Regions from separate parts of the Homo sapiens genome. Here region 2 is linked to region 1. The links are contacts of gene promoters, found by promoter capture Hi-C in blood cells and fetal thymus (Javierre and others, 2016). All regions are on one chromosome and are shown on one strand. Each heading gives the region's core, a stretch centred on a gene start or on the middle of the fragment in contact. The rest is flanking DNA. Distances are from core to core; before and after follow the strand shown.

Evidence for each region. The method cuts DNA at HindIII sites, captures the fragments that hold promoters and counts their contacts. A CHiCAGO score of 5 or more calls a contact.
Region 2: a fragment that was not itself captured here is called in contact with the fragment with the promoter of CMPK1 in region 1 in 1 of 17 cell types (fetal thymus); the score reaches 5.1 in fetal thymus.

The regions. Positions count from the first base shown.
Region 1 is chr1:47,331,915-47,335,050 of GRCh38, forward strand. CMPK1 (cytidine/uridine monophosphate kinase 1) reads left to right here and starts at 1,876. Exons shown (of 6, transcript NM_016308.3): 1 at 1,876-2,202. The coding sequence starts at 2,032. RefSeq lists a silencer at 1,789-2,428 and enhancers at 1,815-2,618, 2,619-3,136, 2,939-2,998. The HindIII fragment of the contact is 8,075 bases long and covers 1-2,783 here.
Region 2 is chr1:46,595,383-46,598,813 of GRCh38, forward strand. The region is part of intron 1 of MKNK1 (MAPK interacting serine/threonine kinase 1); the gene reads right to left. Among named protein-coding and RNA genes, the nearest start is that of MKNK1, 7.2 kb to the right of the region's middle. The HindIII fragment of the contact is 1,327 bases long and covers 788-2,114 here.

The DNA of each region.
Region 1 (3,136 bases), core at 626-3,125:
AAATTAAAGGGAGAATGGAAAAGAAGGGCAAACAAAGGCAAGTAGGTGAGGAGAAGGACAGGAAAAGAGACAGGGAGAAGGGAGGGACTTATAAATGGGAAAAGAAGGGTAGGAAGGATGGGAATAAGTAAAAACAACAACAACAAAAAGAAAGCAAGGAGAGAGAGTAGAGATGGGGAAGAGCCAGAAAATGCTGAGTGAGCTAAGAAAGGACCACCAAAAGAAAAAGGAGAATGGGGGTGGTCAGACAGAGGGCTATACCACTATCTTCCTCTCCTGTTTGCTTTCGTTTACTAACGTCCTGGTCACTCTGCCCTAAACAGCTTAGTTCCTTTCCCATAGTCTTTGTTCACTCCAGCACTATCTGACTTGAACTTGTACCTGTACGACAAATCTAACACCCTGGACTCTTAGTTCTAAAAACAGGACATGCATTCTGCCTCAGTCTTCCATTCCCATGGTCTCACCCTGGACCTTGGCATCATCAGAAACTCAGAAGCTGGGACATTTCAATTCCAAATATCCCACTCAGACCAGCAGCATCCATACTGCCAGAGCACTTGCTCATATACCCCACTGCAATCTTTCTTGGGCCAATGCTCTAAGACATTGGTCCCTTTCCCCACCACCCTCCAACCCCTCCACTACCAGGCTTCATGTGCCATTATTTGCTTTCCTGTATGGTTTTGATTCTACACACAGCATCATGAACATTCTCTTCCAAACACTCTCATCACTTGGCCCCCTCTCTCTGTTGTACTTGCCAGGCAAAATCCCAACCCTCAGTAAATGCAACAAGCTGCCTTCTCTGCCTGTGCCTGAATGGCCAAACATCTTCAATTATTTTGAATCCGTTACCTCAAATATCAAATGAGCTCTTAACGTTGGCCAGAAGGCCTTTTAAAGGCCTGTATGCACCAAGGCTCAGTTCTTGAACGTCTCCTTTTCTTCTCCCTTAAGATTCTTCCCTAATGAAGGGGGCAGGCGAACGGAGTTAAAGGGCTTCCATTGCTGTTAGAATACAGCCCAAATTCCTTTCCATAATCAAAAGTCCTGATCTGCCACCGACCTCACTTTCTCAACTTTTCACCTTCCATTCTCCCCTCATTTGACTCAGCCCTGGTCTCACTGTCACTGGCCTTTTTTCCTTTTTTTTTTTTGAAGCAGTCTCATTGTCACCTAGGCAGGAGTGCAGTGGTGCTATTACGGCTCCTAGGCTCAAGTGAACATCCCAGTAGCTGGGATCACAGGCACGGGTCACGGTGCCCGGCTTTTAAATTTTTGGTCGAGACGGGGTCTCGTCATGTTGTCCAGGCTGGTCTCGAACTCCTGGGCTCAAGCCATCCTCCTGCCTCAGCCTCCCAAAATGCTGGGATTACAGGCGTGAGCCACCGCGCCCAGCCAGGCCTTCCTTCAATTGCTTTAACATGCCAAACCAACTTAGATTTTTTGCACATGCTTTTCTCTGTGGGACACTCTATCCTGGTGTTTGCCTGGTTTCGCTCTTTTCTATCCTTTTGTCTTGGCTTGAATGTCACCTCTTCTGAAGCCTTCTCTGGCGACCCTGGCCATCTTATGTCCTACTTGTTATTTCTTCAAAATCGTACTGCCTTTTGTATGTACTGGTGTTTACTCATTCACACTGGCTACCTCCCCATACCTCACTGGCTGGAATGGAAACTCATTGCGAGCAGAGACAATAGGTTTTGCTCTCCCGCGGATCACGTCCCAGCCTCCAGCTCAGCACCAGACACTTGAGGGCGCAGGATAAAATATCTGCAGTCAGAAAGCACTAATAACCACCCAAGGGTTGGAGGAAAGCTGGCGCGGACCGCACGAGTGTCGCCGAGACGCCGCCGCCGTGCGAAGCTCCTCCCCTTCCGACAGGGCCGCGGACGCCCGGGCAGCCACGGCGGCGGGGCCGCGGCGGGCGCCGGCTCAGCCCGCCCCTTTCTCCCGCCGCCTCCCCGCCCCGCCCCGCGCCGCGCCGGCCGCTGTCAGCTCCCTCAGCGTCCGGCCGAGGCGCGGTGTATGCTGAGCCGCTGCCGCAGCGGGCTGCTCCACGTCCTGGGCCTTAGCTTCCTGCTGCAGACCCGCCGGCCGATTCTCCTCTGCTCTCCACGTCTCATGAAGCCGCTGGTCGTGTTCGTCCTCGGCGGCCCCGGCGCCGGCAAGGGGACCCAGTGCGCCCGCATCGTCGAGGTGAGGCCCGGGCAGCAGGCGGGCTCCTTGGGGCTTGACGGGATGCGGGCCGGCCTGTCCCGCCGCCCCTAGTCCGCGCCCCGCGGAGTCGCCGAGCCGCAGACTACGAGTCCCGGCGGCCACCGCGCCGCCCGCGTGGCAGTGGCCGAGGGCCGCCGGCGCGCGGCGTGCCGGGACTTGTAGTCCGCGCCCGCCCGCCTTGGGGGCCACCGCTTGAGGTCGCTTTGTTCCTGCGCCCCTTCTTTTCTTACATTTTGGGGACCAGATTCGTCTCTAGAGTGGGCTGGGAGAGGGATCCCGGAGGCCAACCTTTGGGGGTCCCCCAGCGCGCAGAGGTTAGCGTGTCGCTGATCGTGTGGCAGGTGAAGGCAGCAGGAGCGCGGATTTGGGTTAGAGGCCGTGTGCGCCCACAGTTGTCTGAAGGAGAGACCTATTTTTCTTCTCCGCGCCTTCCCTCTGGTTCCCTAAACTCCGCACTGTCACCGAACGTGTCTTTACTCTAGAAAGGAGGCCCGTGGGGCGGGGTGTTATTTTAGGCGTGCTGTGGGCTGCCGCTGGCACTCTCGAGCCCCGTCCCCGCAAGCTTTAGGGCGGAGCCAGCCCTGAGGCTCGGCCCGGGTCGGGGATGGGGAAAGCCGGGAGTGCTGTTCTGAGATCAAGCTTCAACCTTTGGCCCTGCTGCCAACTCACGCTCGGCCCTCGGTCACTTCCTGTCTCCCAGCCTCAGTTAGCCCTTGTAATACAGTAAAAAGAGTCTCTGAACCCAGATTTTCTCAGGATATAAAACACCTCCCAAATGTAAAATGCTGTTACTTTTTTTTCTTTTGCTTTGAGACAGGTTACCAGTTCAATTCTTTTAACAATTTTTGAGCTAGATGTATGGTTGGTTAGCTGCATTGACACTGTGGGAAAAAAAGGCTTCATGGACAATCTG
Region 2 (3,431 bases), core at 201-2,700, 740 kb before region 1:
CATGCCCCAAGTGGGACTTGTGCCCAACCCCCACCCACTGCCTCCTTCCTCTGACTTCTCTTCTTCCCTATCAGATCACGTCATCCTGCCAGTTATTCCTCAAAGGCAAGCACTTACCTTTTTCATCTTTGCATTACCAGCATCTAACATAGTATCTGGCAAAAATGGGCTCTAGTGAATCTGAATGAATTACTTAATACACGAAATATCTCTTTAACATCCAATAAAGATGTTAGCACATTGGACAGTCCTTCCTACTATGCTCTTTATTCCCAAACAAATCTGAAACCCAGTAAAACTGTTTCCAGGGCCTAAGGAAACTCAGGGTATGCTCTCTTTCTTCACTTCTACTACCACACTTCCAGGGACAGCCTTGAACACCATCCAACGACAGGATCTGGCTCCATTAGCCAGGCTGGAGTGCAGTGGCATGATCTTGGCTCACTGCAGCCTCCACCTGCCAGGCTCAAGTGATCCTCCCACCTCAGCCTCCCAAGTAGCTGAAACTACAGGCACGAGCCACCACGCCTAATTTTTGTATTTTTTGTAGACACAGGGTCTCACCATGTTGCCCAGGCTGGTATTGAGCTCCTGAGCTCACGTGATTTGCCTGTCTCAGCCTCCCAAAGTGCTGGGATTATGGGCGTGAGCCACCACGCCTGGCCTTGAGCTTCCATTCTGTCTTTAGTCTTGTCATAGGTTTAGACCCCCACCTGGTCCCTTCTTGTTACCTATGGTAGGAGTTGGCAATTTTTTTTCTGTAAAGTGCCAGATGGTAAATATTTTAAGCTTTGTGTGTCACATGATCTTTGTTATGACTCAATTTTGCATTTGTAGAGAGAAAGCAGTAGACAATATGTAAATCAATGATTGTAGCTATATGTCAATAAAACTTTATTTTTGGACACTGAAATTTAAATTTCATAGATTTTCATGTGTCATAAAATATTGATCTTTTCTTGATTTCTCCCCAACCACATAAAAATGTAAAAAGTACATTAGTTTGCATCCACACTAAAACAGGCAGTGAGTCAAATATGGCCTGTGGGCCATACTTTGCCAACCCTTGGCCTACAGTAGAAAAAAAACCCCTCAGAATTCCTTATGGGCTTTGTGTTATTTTGCCACGTGGAGCCACCTTAGGCTGGGGAAGTAGAAAGCACAGGGCTTTTGGGCATTAGGTCCTAGGTTCCAGTTCTGGCCCTACCATCTACCAGCCGGGTAGCCTTGGACATAAAATTCAAACTCTCTGAGCTTTACTACCATCATCTATAAAATGGGGCAATAACACCTAGATCACAGAGTTGTCATGGCAATTAAGTGAGCTAATGTATATAGAGCTCGTGGCACCAGTATCTGGCATACAGTAGGCACTCAATAGTAACTCTTATTCCAGCTTCTGACATGGCTTCTCCAGATCAACTGCAGCTCTGGAAAGCAACCCAGCCAATCTGTGAACCACAGTTGGCCGCAGGAGGGAATAAACTGACAGCAAATACAAAGGCAGAGAGAGAATGTGGAGGTTTTCAGATACATGTCACAGGATTCTAAGTGCCTGGTTAGCCCTAATTCCTTCTGGCACCATTTAAAATTCCTCTGGTCCCTTTTTCCTCCTCAAAAATTACTTCTGACTCTCACAGTTCTTAAAGATTCTTAGCATTCTTTACCAACTACCCAGATGGACCCTGGAGCCCTCTCCTCATTCCTGTACCTCCTGCTGGTATAGGGCTGGGGTGGGGAAGGGTGACCATGGCCAGACCAAACCTACACAGATCCATCGGCCTGCAGCTGGGTCTTAAGTAGGCTGGGCCTGGCGAGGCACCCAATTCTCTCTCAATTGTTCATGAATTTCTTGCTGTACTGGGAATTAAATTTCTTCAGTGCTTAAGAACTAGACCTTCTACAGACGTTTTAGAGCAAAAAAAAAAAAAAAAATCACCATGTATACAAACAAAAGATCCATCACATTACTTTCAAGACAGAAAACATCAGTGAGGCACAGGTAAGGCTAAGGTTTATGGCATCTCTACCCTTGGTCCAAAAAGCCAGATCTCGACCTGTTACTTCCTTGCTCTAAAACTTCTAATGGGTGTCCACTGCCTCTGGAGTAACCAAGCTTCTGTGCTGTCACTCACGGCCTCCATCAACTTGTCCCAGACCAACCCTCTATGGGAGTCTTAACCTGCAGTCTCGTCAAAAGGGACTGTATTTCCACCTGATTGCTCTAACCAATTCCCAGCTTCCTACACTTGTGCATAATTAAATTACCTGTAACATTTTATTACGCATCTTCCCCTAGACTGTTAGCCAGGGACAGGGTAGAGACTATGTCTCCTTCATCTCTGGGACCCCTACACCTAGCAGAGGCTCTGGTATGGGGCAACCACTTCATAATTGTTAATGAATGGATGGAAACAGCTGAAGTTATTCTTCCCTTAAGCTGTTTTAGCTGGACTCTTATTAGAAGACCGAGTACAGTCTGGGTCACTGCCACAAAGCAGAAAAACCGAAGAGAAAGAAAAGAGGCATGACCAATGTGATCCAAGCAATGGAAAACAGGTTTTAAGAGTGAGGTTAAAGAGACCAAGGCTGTTTAGCCGGGAGAAGAGAAGATGAGGTTTAACTGGATTCTGGCTTTAAGTACAGAAAAGGTTCTCATGAGAAAATCTTGATCTCATCCTCCCTTTAAAATCAGAAGAAACTTTTCCATATTCATGGAAAATGGAACAAGAAGAAATGGCTTAAGTTAAGGCCTGAAGGGTTTAAGCTGGACAGAAAGAAGAACCAAATTAGGCACCACTTTTCCAGAGATACTGTTATTGTACTTTTGGCAAGTGAATTGGAGGAGTCTTGCTTGGCACTCTTGTTGAAGGCTGTGAAAAAAGTAATATATGTGCTGCTCTGTTCCTGTTTACTGTGGAGAGAGGTGAAAACACAAGTCAGGTAAGATTTTCTAACGAGCCACTGATTTTTATTGACCCATTTCCTACAGGCACTTTCTGCCATGTTATGCATTGCAACCATGTGCTGGAACAATCTAGTATCTCAAAGGTTCCTGACAGGGCAATGGAAAGAAAGAGAAGGTAACAATGCGGGGGAAGGGAAAATGGCCCTAATAAATATACTTTCTATAAAAACAGTACCAAACTGGGCATTCATATATTTATTAATATTATTACTATTAAAGCTCACATTCATTGAGCACCTACTGTGTGCCAGGCACTGTGCTGTTGTATCTCAATTCTCATAACAACCCCATGAGGTAAGTAATATTTGTATTCTCATTTTACAGATGAAGGAACAGAAACTCAGGAAGATTAAATAACTTGCCCAAGTCACACAGGTAGCAAGTGACAGAGCCAGGACTCAAACCCAGATAGCCTGACTCTAGAGTCCACATACCTAACTACTGTCTCTCTGTAAGGATGAGA